Regions from separate parts of the Homo sapiens genome. Here all the other regions are linked to region 2. Evidence: promoter capture Hi-C in human tissues and cell types (Jung and others, 2019). All regions are on one chromosome and are shown on one strand. The core of a region is centred on a gene start or on the middle of the fragment in contact, and the rest is flanking DNA. Distances in the headings are between cores, read along the strand shown. Region 1 overlaps CRTC3 (CREB regulated transcription coactivator 3). Region 2 holds the start of TTLL13 (tubulin tyrosine ligase like 13). Region 3 overlaps CRTC3 (CREB regulated transcription coactivator 3). Region 4 overlaps ARPIN-AP3S2 (ARPIN-AP3S2 readthrough). Region 5 overlaps CRTC3-AS1 (CRTC3 antisense RNA 1).

Evidence for each region. Contacts are between HindIII fragments. The study calls those that stand out against the background at their distance.
Region 1: a contact is called between a fragment that was not itself captured here and the fragment with the promoter of TTLL13 in region 2, in 1 of the 25 tissues and cell types used here (aorta).
Region 3: a contact is called between a fragment that was not itself captured here and the fragment with the promoter of TTLL13 in region 2, in 1 of the 25 tissues and cell types used here (H1 embryonic stem cells).
Region 4: a contact is called between a fragment that was not itself captured here and the fragment with the promoter of TTLL13 in region 2, in 1 of the 25 tissues and cell types used here (dorsolateral prefrontal cortex).
Region 5: a contact is called between a fragment that was not itself captured here and the fragment with the promoter of TTLL13 in region 2, in 1 of the 25 tissues and cell types used here (pancreas).

Annotation. Positions count from the first base shown.
Region 1 is chr15:90,599,830-90,602,529 of GRCh38, reverse strand. CRTC3 (CREB regulated transcription coactivator 3) reads right to left here. Exons shown (of 15, transcript NM_022769.5): 4 at 145-206. LOC124903554 (a long non-coding RNA gene) reads right to left here. Exons shown (of 2, transcript XR_007064756.1): 2 at 1,725-2,222. Among named protein-coding and RNA genes, the nearest start is that of LINC01585, 59 kb to the left of the region's middle. The HindIII fragment of the contact is 8,040 bases long and covers 1-2,700 here.
Region 2 is chr15:90,248,206-90,250,905 of GRCh38, reverse strand. TTLL13 (tubulin tyrosine ligase like 13) reads right to left here and starts at 1,350. Exons shown (of 15, transcript NM_001396017.1): 1 at 1,098-1,350; 2 at 19-286. The coding sequence starts at 275. It also overlaps a transcript of CIB1 not described here. The HindIII fragment of the contact is 10,980 bases long and covers 1-2,700 here.
Region 3 is chr15:90,581,469-90,584,168 of GRCh38, reverse strand. The region is part of intron 2 of CRTC3 (CREB regulated transcription coactivator 3); the gene reads right to left. Among named protein-coding and RNA genes, the nearest start is that of CRTC3, 53 kb to the right of the region's middle. RefSeq lists enhancers at 1-332, 333-844. The HindIII fragment of the contact is 4,580 bases long and covers 1-2,700 here.
Region 4 is chr15:89,871,077-89,873,776 of GRCh38, reverse strand. ARPIN-AP3S2 (ARPIN-AP3S2 readthrough) reads left to right here. Exons shown (of 10, transcript NM_001199058.2): 8 at 2,231-2,302. It overlaps AP3S2 (adaptor related protein complex 3 subunit sigma 2), which reads left to right. Exons shown (of 6, transcript NM_005829.5): 4 at 2,231-2,302. Among named protein-coding and RNA genes, the nearest start is that of MIR5009, 12 kb to the left of the region's middle. The HindIII fragment of the contact is 7,631 bases long and covers 1-2,700 here.
Region 5 is chr15:90,672,286-90,674,985 of GRCh38, reverse strand. The region is part of intron 2 of CRTC3-AS1 (CRTC3 antisense RNA 1); the gene reads left to right. Among named protein-coding and RNA genes, the nearest start is that of LINC01585, 13 kb to the right of the region's middle. The HindIII fragment of the contact is 6,170 bases long and covers 1-2,700 here.

The sequences.
Region 1 (2,700 bases), core at 168-2,667, 350 kb before region 2:
TCCCACTGAAATTAAATGTTATAAGAGAAAACAGGATTCTATGCTTTATATTAGAAATTTCTAAACAACATTCAAAGTGGATAAAGTGAAATTATCTAAAAATAACACATGCCCATCATATCTTTTAAAGTATGTCTTGCTTACCTTGGCCAACTCTCATCCAGAGGCTGTGAGGAATAATTGGCTCCAAAAGCACTACCATCAAAGTAGAATTTTTAATAAAGGAAAAATAAAAATTAATGGAAAGATGAAGCAGAATTAACAAGGTGGACTCACAGAGAGTTAAACAACTGAGTTTTTGGTTCCTTATCCCTGTACCTGACAGCTCTTCCTTCATGCTTTCTCTTATCTCCCTCCTTGAGGACAAGTCTATTCTGCTGTCTTCTAACCGGTGTTTTCTTTGCATGATTTTTTGTGGGGTGTTTATTATTTTTTGCCTGTCCGGCAACTTTTGTTTTCAGGAACTGTCTCCACTCTTGCTCCAAACCTGGTAACACTGCCATTCCCTCTGTGCCACATGTGAGGGACCCAGGCCCAGGATTCTAGTCTAGGTACCTCACCCCCTGGAAACAGTGTTTGGCTCAGGGATCGGCTCACGACGCAAACAGAACCAAGGAGAGTGCTTTTGAGTGGAAAAAAAAGGAGTGCCCCAATAGGGCTGGTAAGCCCAAGGGCCGTCTGAACCTGGGGGTCTTCACCTTGGAGAAAGCCTGTCTGTTATGCCTGAAGTCATCTCAGAAGTGGTACCACAGAGGTAGGTCTCAATGACATTGTATGACCCCTTGGATCTAGCCCTTGGGCTTCCAGTGACATATGCCAATACATTTTCTTTTTTTAAGTTAAGGTGGGTTCCTGGTACTTATTTATTTTTTGAGACGGAGTTTCACTCTTTTTTTTGGCCCAGGCTGGAGTGCAATGGCGCAATCTCGGCTCACTGCAACCTCCACCTCCCAGGTTCAAGCAATTCTCCTGCCTCAGCCTCCCGAGTAGCTGGGATTACAGGCATGCGCCACCACACCCGGCTAATTTTGTATTTTTTTTAATTAGAGACAGGGTTTCTCCACGTTGGCCAGGCTGGTCTTGAACTCCTGACCTCAGGTGATCCACCCACCTCGGCCTCCCAAATTGCTGGGATTAGAGGTGTGAGCCACTGCGCCCGGCGGTTCCTGGTATTTATAACCAAAAAAGAGGCGCATTAGATGTGTGAAGAAAGGTAAACTTTCCAGTGTTGTTGGGGGCACTGTCTTATCAGTCTTGTGTTGTTCACTGGGTCTACCATGCCTTGGAGCATATTCTGGACGCACGGAGACACAAATGGGATGCTGCACTACACACCGAGCAGAGGGGCGCTGTTTTCATTCGTTTAGTTAATTGTTCCCACACAATAGCCTTCTGAAGACACTGTTAATCATATTATTCTGCTAAGAAATCTTCAATGATTTTGTTCAGCCTAAAAGGCAAAATCAAAACTTACTGGCTTAGTAATTGCGGTGATCCACAATTTGGGGACAATGGTCTCTTCTGCTCTTGTCTTCCCTCCAGCTTTCTGAGTTCCACAAACACAGCCTGTATTTTCCTGCCCCTCTGCCTTTGCTAAGGCCATTTCCCCTTTCTCACCTCCTATGTGGAAGGTTGCCTCCTTATCACTCACCCAAACCAAGCCCATTCCTTTTGTCTCCTGGATCACTGATTGGATTAAATATACATTCGGCAGTTACCAATAATACTTTTCATCCCAAACTTTTATTTCTTAAGGTGGAAATAATAAAGAAGATACAAACTACACATTAAGACAGAAATTTGAAAACAGATATCTAAGCACCTACTGTGTGCCAGGCCTGTGCTGAGTTCACACTTTATTTAACCTCAATCCTGAGAGGCAGATATTTTCCCCATTTTATAGCTGAAGAAACTGAGGCTCAGTTCTAGAAGAGCTGAGAAATCCAAGATCAGATAGCACGCCTGGTGGATCAGGGGTCAGACCCACAAATCACTGACACCAAAGCCTGAGAGCTCTCCGCTAAGCTATGCTGCCTCTCAGGAAACAGTGAACTATGCCAAATGCCCCCAGAAAATAGAAAATAGTACCTGGAGTGTTCTGGGAAGGATGGAGGCTATAAGAGAAGGTACCATCTGCTCGGGCTCAGGAGGAAACAGGAGCCTTGATGGAGTGGGGCCCTATCCTGCAGGCCTGGGCTGGGCAGCTCAAATAAATACAGAATCTGGAATTAGGAAAACGGAGGCTCTCATGAGTTCTTAGTGATTTGGTGGGAAATGTCTTCTTTGCCAGGAGAGGCATTAGGATTGCAAGTTTCATCTTCTATGTATTCGTTTTCTTTGACAAGTCTCATTATCTTATTTCTTAATTTGACCTTAAATCAATAAAATAAAACAGATAATTTCCAAAGAGAGACATTTCTTCAACATTCACTATTAGGCTTAAGGTACATGAAGTACAGATGAGGCAAGACCACAGTAGGAGGTAGGAGAGGAAAAGGTGATAAATAGTAAGGCCCGTGACAGACAAAACCTGTCAGTATTTCTGTTGGCAAAGCCATTAGGGAGGAAACACCGAGCCTCAGAACCTACGGTTATCTGCCTTTCTCTTTTCTGCAGATTTGATGAATCTCTGTTCAGAAACGCTTAATTTCAGGAAGTAGAAGTTTACCATTTTTCTCAGTACACTGCCATCTTTAAACT
Region 2 (2,700 bases), core at 101-2,600:
GATCTAGGGAATAGTTACCTGCGTTTCCGCCTTCTCTTCCTCCTCCCAGCTTCTAAGTCGCCTGTGTCAACTGGGGCTATGACTTTCTTCGGAATTTTTGTGGCCATAATGGGTGAGGGAACCCCATTTTTTAATGCCTTATAGTCAGCTTTTAAGAGAGCCTGCTGTGAAGAGTTAGAGGGGTTGGTAACTCCCTCTTTAACACACTTCTCAGATTCCTTTTCCTCAACATAGTCTTCCTCTGATTCCATGGTCCTACAGGTACTCGGCTCCATTCTCTCAGATTCTGAGGGGTTGCGGGGTGGGAATGAAGTGTATATCAGACCTCAGACCTCCCTCAGGCCCTAGAAGGCCTGAAGGAATCCACCAGAACGACCTTCATGCTGTTATAAGGGAAAGTTGCTGCCCCTTCAGGACAAAACTGTTTCACTGAGGAATGGGATGTGTCCAGGTAGGTGGAGGTGCATGGGGGTGGAAGACACCAGTGAGATGTGGATTCCCTGATGACAAGCCCCAATCATCCAGGTTCACACTGGATCATACAACGCACAGGGGTGCCTTCAGGAGTTGGACACAGATGGTATGGGCCATGACCATGGCTCTTTTGTTCCTAATTGGGAAAGAGGATGGCTGTGAGTGCTGGGGGGACCTTCGCTTTAAAATACAGCTGAATCGGCCCAGCACGTTGGGAGGCTGAGGCGGGCAGATCACTTGAGGTCTGGAGTTGGAGAGCAGCCTGGCTAGCACGGTGAAATCCCGTCTCTCCTAAAAATACAAAAATTAGCTGGGTGTGCTGGTGCGTTGCCTGTAATCCCAGCTACTCGGGAGGCTGAGGGAGGAGAATCACTTGAACCTGGGAGGTGGAGGTTGCAGTGAGCCGAGATCACACCACTGCACTCCAGCCTGGGCGACAGAGCAAGAGTCTGTCTCTAAATAAATAAATAAATAAATAAATAAAATAAAATACAGCTGAAGACCAAAAGCCCCCTACGCTGGCCCTTTCCCTCTCCCAGGACTCATTTTCTGCACGTGTACACACTAGGGACAGGCACCCGATGGCTAAGACCCTTTGGGCTGTGACGGTGGAGACTGCCCACCCGTGGTTACGAGGAGAGCTGAGGGGCTGCTGGGTCCGCCCCTAGCCGCCTGGGGATGGACTCAGCTGGCCGCTCATGTCCCCTCTTCCCCCGGCTCCAGGTCTCCCTGGGCGTTTCTGGGCGTCCGGAACCGCCTCCTCGTTTCACAGGACTGGCTGTCCCCACGATCGCGAGGGGGAAGCTGCTCCCCCGCAGGGGTTCACTCCTAGCTCCCGGTGGCCGTGGCTGCGGCTGCCGGGGCAGCGCTTCCTCTAGCAAGCCCGTGGCCGCCGCCGTTGCCATGGACACGAGGGCAGTTCCCATTGGAGAAGCGTCCTGGGGGCGGGGCTTTCCCGCAGCCACACCCACTTGGGCGCGGGCCGAGGCTACCTTGGGTGGGGGAGACAGCGTTTGCCCTTTGGAGCTGGCCGGCCTCGACGCCAGATTCTTCCGGTGTATCATGGGACTTGCAGCCCTCCCGCTTCGAAGCCAGTTCTCGCCGCACTCCCATCTTTCCCTAAACCCCGGGCCAAGGAATTTGGCCAAGCATATAATGAGGACAAATAGCTGTTTGCCTCTCCTCAATTCTCCCTTTTTTTTTTTTTTTTTTTTTTTGAGACGGGGTCTTGCTGTGTCGCCCAGGCTGGAGTGCAGTGGAATGCACCATCATAGCTCACTGCAGCCTGGACCTCCTGGGCTCAAGCAATCCTCCTGCCTCAGCCTCCCCAGTAGCTGTGACTACAGGAGCGTGCCACCACGCCGGGCTCAATTCTTTAGTAACTCTAAGTTTAGCTAGCAAAGCCTATGCATTCAAGAGTGACAGCCATGGTAAGGCCACGTGCCTTTCAAGGCTTTGCCTCTGGTGGACTGAGACAGCTCCATTAAGGAATAACCAAACCGCCTTATCACAGTGCTCCTTCACTGTCACCTTCTCTTCCTGACATCCACCCACTTTGATTTCTGCTCACCACCTCCACCCAACTCAGCTCAACTTGTCACCCTAAAATTATACTGTGTGGCTAAATCTAGAGAACACTTAAAATGTTTCCATCCTTTTAAAAAGACATGGACTTTTTTTTTTTTTTTTTTTTTTTTTTTTTTTTTTTTTTTTGAGACAGGGTCTTGCTTTGTAGCCCAGGCTGGATTGCAGTGGTGTGATCGCAGCTCACTGCAACTTTACTTAGCTTCCCAGGCTCAAGCAATCCTCCCACTTCAGCGTCCCAAGTAGCTGGGGCTACAGGTGCGCACCACCATGCCTGGCTAATTTTTGTATTTTTTGTAGAGATGGGGTTTTGCTGTGTTGGCCAGGCTGATCTTGAACTCCTGACCTCAAGTGACCTGCCCACCTTGGCTTCCCAAAGTGGTGGGATTACAGGCATGAACCACTGAACTCGGCCTAAAAAAGGCATGGACATTCTCTAATTCATAGACTGTTTTTGTTGTTGTTAATTGTCTATAAAGATAAGCTATTTCTTTGCCCACATATTCATGTTTCATAGTTCAGGAACATAGGTTAGTGATAAACTTCTATGTAATGCAACCCAAAGAAACTGTTTATACCAAAATCACTTTGCACTTTGAAAGATACCAGCCTTCCTCATCTCCTCAAAATCTTTCATAGAAT
Region 3 (2,700 bases), core at 90-2,589, 330 kb before region 2:
TTATTTATATGCAGACTGAAGCTAATGGAAGATGTTATAGCCCCCCTCTTTTAAAAAGGACAAGTCTAAATAACAAAGGAACAACTGTGCCTCTCTTGGGAACCCAGCTGGAGATCATTCTAGGCACTGCCAGCACCTCCTTTGATTCTCATGACAAGTGGGGGAGTCGTGAAGGCCTGTCCACAACAAAGGGGCTGCTATTAATTCACACTGCCTTGGGGTTAAATGGATCATTTAAGTCTACCTTACAAACTAAGCGGAATAAAAAAGGATGTCATACTTGGTTAAATACCCTATTATAACATCATTCAAAAAAAAAAGAAAAGAGAAACTTCAAGAGAAGTTCAAAATGTATAACAAATCTCCAGCGTCAGACCTGCCAGCACCCAGCCAGCCTCTCTGACAGCAGCCCCCAACACTCTTCCTTTGCCCTCTGCAGTGCTTAGGTATGCCAGCAGGCAGGGGCTTCAGTTCACAAAACTCCTGTGAGGCTCCCAGCTGTTCTGGGTTTTGGAAGGCTTTTCCCCCAGCAGCCTGCCAGCACTACACTATCTTTGGGGCTAGTCTATTCCAGTCTCGCAGAAGTGATTAGACTTTCAGAGCCCTTGAACCACCTAGATGGGTTTTTTGTTTGTTTTTAACCTGGAGGCTATGCCTTTTTTGACCAGCTGATCTGGGGATCCAATCTTCTCCAAAGGACCAAATAAGTCTTGCTGTGAGGCATGAAAAGAAGAGATGAAGAGCAGAACAGACCAGAGAAGGCACCAGCACCCAACCTGCTGATTTAGGACCTGGCCTATCACCATGTCTGTGGCCCTTGTGTTGCCCCTTCCTAGTCTGTATTTTTAAATGAAAGATAAAAGGGAAGTAAAGTTAACAGATAAACTAAGTTAAAAGGTGACTCCAGAAAATGATAGAGATAAAACAGTTTTGGGGTTGTTTTGTTTTTAGCAGGTAAAGTCAAAATCAGACCAATCAAAATGATCACAGAGGGCCAGGCAAAATAATTTCTCAAAATAAGAAATAATGGCTGGGTGTGGTGGTGGCTCACACGTGTAATCCCAGCACTTTGGGAGGCCGAGGTGGGAGGATCGCTTGAGCTCAAGAATAGGAGGCCAGCCTGGGCAACATAATGAGACCCCATCTCTAAAAAAAAAGAAGAAGAAATAACGACAATGCATAAAACACGCCCAGAGTTCATGCTGGGGGATCCTGCTCAAGAAAAGGCAGAGAATAAGGTCTATGTCTCAGGCAGAGCTTCTCACCTGGAGAAGATGGATCATGTTCATTCCCTGACCCTGATGGAGCAGGCTGTAAGCAGTGAGACCTCCCCCAGCATCTTCCCTCCAGCATTTGCACAGCGTCAGCCACACAGTGGGCTCCAACACGTGTTTGCTGAATTACATAATGTTTCTAAATGATTTGGCTCCAAAGAGGAATGTGTACCCCCAGGGGATTTACAGGATGGCATAGGGTATGGGGAAAACATTAGAAGTTCTGTTTCCACTTAGCTTTCTATTTTTTTGTATACTTAATATTAACAATACAGTGTTATATGTACATAATTTAAAAAACAAAGAACATACCCAAATTGGGGATATAAAACTCTTTTTACTACTAGGCTGCATAATCAAAAAGTTTAAATGCAAAGTGTTGATCGTTATTAAAAACTGGTGAGGGCTATATGGGAGCTTCTTATTCTACTCCTACTTTTCTGTACAGCTACAAATTTCCACGATAAAATGAAGAATTTCAGCTTCAAGTTCTCAGGGATGGCATAGCAGGGTGAATGCAGACCCAAGCCTCTAAAGGCACTTTACTGTCTTTCCACAGAGCGCCACCCAAGCCTCCACAGAAGTAGAAGTTTTAAACTGCCTGTTCCCATCCCCACCTCCCCACCTGGTGTGATATCTTTGGGTGGTGAGGGAGGCCTTCCGTTGAGTGTAGTTCTCCTTTTAACTTTAATGCTAATAAGACAATGACTAGAGAAATATGTTCTGGGTAAATCAGGTTTGCCCATTTATCTCCTCCAGAGGAAGCTGATTTGCTTCTTATGGTGATAGAAAGGAACTGCAGAAGGGAAGAACTGGCTTTTGATCAACTAAGACTTGAGCAGTGGCAGGAGTCCGGCCTAGTGGCTGGTAAGGCAACTGGCCAAAGGCACCCTTGGAGGCCACAAGGGTCAGGTAGGCACTTCAGGCCAAGCAGGAAAGGAGACAAAGTGCCTGAGCCTCTGTTCATCCCACACCAACCTCTTCCTGCCGTAGGAAATATATGTAAAAGACAGGCACCTGTCAGCCTGCCGACTCCCTCCTTTCACCCCCACTGCATTCTGAATCACACCAGATCCACCGCTGTGATTCAACTTGGTAGGACACTTCACTGAGTTTAGAAGAGATTGTAATTTGGAATTAAAAGAGAAAAAACAAAGGGGAGGGGACAGATGAAACAAGAGTGGCAAAATGTTGAAAAATATTGAATCTGGTGATGAGTCTATGGGGGTTCTTTATTCTACTTTGGGGAAGATTTTACATTTCCAAATAACAAGTTTGATTTTTTAATTAAAGTTATGATACTGTCATAAATTAAAGGTGCCTTTTCAGTTTTAACTCAATAACTTCTACATATATGCCAAAAAAAGAGATGAAGGCTGTGTTTTCTACCATACAGCCAGCCAACAAAACAACTTTTTTTCACACT
Region 4 (2,700 bases), core at 70-2,569, 380 kb after region 2:
TAAACAAAAACACTCACAGCCTTGTTGCTCACACAAAATGAACAAAATGGTCTCTTAGAAATAAAAAATGAGAGGAAATGGAAACAAACAAAAACCCACTTCAACTGAAGTATTAGAAAATCAAGTTAATCAATTGTCTCAGAATGGGCAGAGATGGAAAATGGGAGAGAAAAGATGAGAAAATAAGACAGAGGCCGGGCACAGTGGCTCACGTCTGTAACCCCAGCACTTTGGTAGGCCAAGACAGGGGGATCACTTAAGGTCAGGAATTGGATATCAGCCTGGCCAACATGGTGAAACCTCGTCTCTACTAAAAATACAAAAATTAGCCAGGCGTGGTGGTGCATGCCTGTAATCCCAGCTACTCAGGAGGCTGAGGCAGGAGAATTGCTTGAACCCAGGAGGCAGAGGCTGCAGTGAGCCAAGATCGTGGCACTGCACTTCAGCGTGGACAACAGAGCGAGAGTCTGTCTCAAAAAAAAAAAAAAAAGAAGACAGACAGAGGTCCAATACTTGAATATAAGCAGCTCCAAAAAGATTGATTAGGAATGTGGAAAGGAGGGAATTCTCAACAAAATAATTCGATAAAATTTCCCAGAACTGAAGGACTTGAACTGCAGGATTATAAGGGCTTACCAAGTACCCAGCATAGTGATTGAGAAATAGACCCATTTAACTATGTGTCCTTATAGTGAAATATTCTGGCACTGTTAAAAATGTAAAGATTTATGAATGGCACTAATATGAAATTATTGTATGTGGTTTTTGGCATACATGTATATATCTGTTAGATATGTTATCTGGGAGTAGAATTCCTAGATCATAGAGCATGCATACATAATGTCATAGTTTTCCAAAATGGTTGGTATCTGGCAAAATACAGTGCACTGGTTACCAGTCTCAAGAAAGGAATCTAAATGCTCTTGCCCATTGCATCTTGGTATCAGAGTCGGCAAGGAAAAAGTGCAAACACTGGATAAAGCTTTACTTACATAGAGAAGAGACAGAGCAGGATCAGCTCCAATAGTGTGCGTTGGTTCCTCATGGCAAGTGGGTCTGTCTCCCCAGCAGCCGCTGCAGGGTGGTTTGCCTATGAGCACCCATCTTGTGCTACAGTGGAACGGTGTGCCTGGTCTCTGTCACTTGCTGGCCTCAAGTAAGACCCATTTTCATGCAGTGCCGAACAATTCATGACACTGCTGACAATGAGATTGTTTAAATGAGGTCATTGTCTGAGAGAAATTAAACAGTTATAGATAGATACCTAGGTTGTAGTTACATGGTGTGTTCATTCTGAAAATTCATTAAACTGTGCCCTTGTCATTTGTACACTTTTCTGTTATGTTTTATTAAAAGTTAAAAGGTTCTATAGAGAAGTAAGCTCAGGGCTTTTAAAAAAAAATTTTAAGTTGTAAACACGTCAATTAAATTTATTCATAGGAAGGTATTTTGTAGGCTAAATAACTGACCAAAAAAATTAAAAAGGGAAGATGTTTTGAAGTTAATTTTGGCTGAAATTAAAACACAGCTATGTTAACCCTGTAATAATGAAAAATTTTTTGTACATGTATTCATTGAGGACATAGTATTGTAAGTAGTTGGTTTTTTTAATTTGTTATTCTTTTATGTAATTTTTTTTCTTTTTTCTTTTTTTTTTTTTGAGAGACTCTCACTCTGTCACTCAGGCTGGAGTGCAGTGGTGCGATCTCTGCTTATGGCAACCTCCACCTCAAATGATTCTCATTCAAGCTATTCTCGTGCCTCAGCCTCCCAAGTAGCTGGGACTATAACAGGCTCGTGTCGCCACACCCAGATAATTTTTGTATTTTTAGTAGAGATGGGTTTTCGTCTTGTTAGCAAGGCTGGTCGTGAGCTCTTGGCCTCAAGTGATCCTCCTGCCTTGGGCTCTCAAAGTGCTGAGATTGTAAGTATGAGCCACCATGCCCTACCATAAATTAGCATCTTATAAAGGGGGAAAGAGCCACATGTGTCTGCTGGTTGTGTTGCTATGCTGAAAACAAGGTTTTCCTGTCCTAGATTATTCCCTCTAAATCGAGATAAGTAGGGTGATCAGCTAATGCTGGAGACAAAAGGTAGGTGTTTTAATTTTTGAGATTTATCATAAAGTAAATAGTATTGTGACAGCCCCTTTTACTTTCAGATGTGACATTGATAAAGCTGTGAATGTGTTCCTATTTCTCTTCTTTATCTATTTCTCCTTGTTTTCTAGGTTTTTGTGGAAACTCTGGATAAGTGTTTCGAAAATGTGTGTGAATTGGATTTGATCTTCCATATGGATAAGGTATATTCTCTTGCAGTTCTCTTCCAAACTAGGGTTACTAGAAAACCAAGAGCCTTGGGCATCTGTAGCCACCTCTACATCTTCATATTGTTTCTTGTTTTTTTTTACTCTTAAGATAGTCCTAGAACATGTTTTATTTAATAGATTTAATAGTTTGGGTTTTGTTTTGTTTTTGCTAAGATCTACTAACAGTTTTAACGTGCATAAGATTATTACTAGGCCTATATCGTGGTTCATCTGTTCACAGACTGATTTCTTGATATAGGAGAATGATGTCACTGGCTACTTGGCCAAAGGTGAGATAAATAGTTTTATGCTGATTATAAAATTAGTTTCCTAGTCATAGGCCAGTGACAATGAAACTTTGGAATAATCATGACGCAGGGGCTTTGACTTAG
Region 5 (2,700 bases), core at 100-2,599, 420 kb before region 2:
AAAGTGCTGGGATTACAGGCGTGAGCCACCGAGCCCAGCCCACTTTTTTAATAAAAAGAAAAGTCAGTATACATGAATATTAAAAACATAGTGCTGGGCAAAATTCACACCATCCTGTAGTGCAGAGCCCCCCTCTCCTTCCAGGGTAGCCATGAGATGAATAGTGACACCTTAGACTGGGCCCTTCACTGCTGCTGGACTCTTTTTGCAAATGGGGTCAGAGTCCTGGGAAATGCAGCCTTGGTGCAGAGAATAACGCTTGGGCATTTTGTGTGTATTCTCAGGTTGCAGATACCACAGACTCTGTCAAGAAGTGTGTTGGGGGCCAGGCGTGGTGACTCATGCCTGTAATCCCAGCACTTTGGGAGGCTGAGGTGGGAGAATTGCTTGATCCCAGAGGTCAAGTCTGTATAAGCCATGATCATGCCGGTACTCCAGCCTTGGAGACAGAGTGAGACCCTCTCTCAGAAGAAAAAAAAAAAGAAGTATGTTGAGGCTTCTCATTGCTCTGAAAAGGGAGTTCATGATAAACATGTTTGGGCTGGGGAAAAAAAAAAACAAGCACATAAACAAAATAAAAAACCCAACCCTTGTCCCTTGGTCTTTGAGTGACCAGTGATATTCCATCGCCGTGGAAGAAGAGAAGATGAATACTGGGGGAACACCCACAGTGCCTGTGACGCTTCCTACCAGCCTGCTCTACCTCCCTGGCCGGCTCTTTCTCCCTTCCTCCTACCAGCTTTTCTAAACCTTCTGTCAGCTCAGCATCCCTCCCATCCCTCTGCCATCACTAACCCCTCTCTTCCTATTGCACAGAACAAAGAGAATCCATCAGATGAGAGTTCCTTCAACTTCCTGATCTCTCCCTCCCAGCCCTCACCAGACACCCTGCTTGAATGCTCACCCCTTTCTCTCGAAGGCCAGTCCCTGCTCCTGGGCTCTCAATCCCACCCCTCCTATTGGCCTAGAACCGCAAAACCAGGTCTCTCCCACTGTCTCCAGACTCTCTGCCCACAGTGTGTCAGCATTTAAATATGCTCGTCTTTTCCATGAAAGGTGTTCCCTGGGGCCAGGCGCGGTGGCTCACACCTGTAATCCCTGCACTTTGGGAGGCCGAGGTGGGCGGATCTCTTGAGGTCAGGAGTTCGAGACCAGCCTGGCCAATGTGGTGAAACCCCATCTCTACTAACAATACAAAAATTAGGTGTGGTGGCACACGCCCGTAGTCCCAGTTACTAGGGAGTCTGAGGCGGGAGAATCGCTTGAACCCGCGAGGTGGAGGTTGCAGTGAGCTGAGATCATACCACTGCACTCCAGCTTTGGCGGCAGAGCAAGACTCTGAAGAAAGAGGGAGGGAGGGAAGGAAGGAAGGAGGGAAGGAAGGAAGGAGGGAAGGAAGGAAGGAAGGAAGGAAGGAAGGAAGGAAGGAAGGAAGGAAGGAAGGGCGGGCTCCCTGGACTCCATCTCCCCCTCCTGCCACCTGTCTCTCCGCTCTCCTTCGGCGTAAGCCAGGAAGCGCTCCCTTCTCTATGTCCACCACTTTTTCAGTTTCTTTAAAATAAGAAATGTGGTGGAAATGTCAAGACACCAAGAAACCTATACACCAGTCCTAAGGGTTCATTCTACTTTCCTTTTTCTCTCTACAACATCATACAGCCCTGGTTATTTCTACAGTGGCTTTAGTCCTCTCCTTTGGTGTACTTTACAAAAATATATCCAGGGAGAACTGGATTCTCCATCCTCTTGGGGAACCGACAGAGTATCCACAACCAGTCTATTTCAAAGGGAGGGGGTTGGGCTTGATGAGGTGGCTCACTCCTGTAATCCCAGCACTTTGGGAGGCTGAGGCGGGAAGATCCATTGAGCCCAGGAGTTCAAGACCAGCCTGGGGAACATGGCGAAATCCCATCTCTACAAAAAAATACACAAATTAGCCAGGTGTGATGGCGTGCACTTGTAGTCCCAGCTACTCAGGAGGCTGAGGAGGGAGGATCACCTAAGCCTGGGAGTTCGAGGTTGCAGGGAGTTAAGCCATGATCGTGCCACTGCGCTCCAGCCTGTCTGAGACACTGTCTCAACAAACAAGCAAACAAATGAAACAAAAGGAAGGAACCTGAACCTCTTTACATCTTCTTTTGGGAGCAGCGATAATCAGCAATGACGTGTTCCAATCATAATTCCATTTCCTCATTTAAGGCAGAACCCTCTCTGTTCAGTAATTGGCACAATTTGAGGACAAGAGTTATCCTAGGAACTTTCAGAAAAAGAACCCATATTAATTTTGTAACAAAGATGTAAAATGTGTCTTTGTGAGAAAGGGGCATACAGATTTTGGTGGGACTTTGAATCATACGCAGTCATAATTTGTTTTATCCTTTTTTCCAGAAAAATATGCAAAACAAAATAGCTGTGTGATGGTACTACAGGGTCTTTGGGCTTTTGGAGGAGAATATAACCAAAGGGCTCCCAGGACAGCGTCATGTTCAAGTGTCTAGAAAGTTTCATATGCACTCTGTGCTTTACTTTCTCATCACCTATTTTAGTCCATTCAGGTTGCTTTAGACTCCCATAGGCTTATAAACAACAGAAATGCACTTTCTCACATTCTGGAGTCTGGAATGAGATTGTGGTGCCAGCATGGTTGAGTTCTGGCAAGGGATGTCTTCTGGGTTGCAGATGGCCGAATTTTCTTTGTATCCT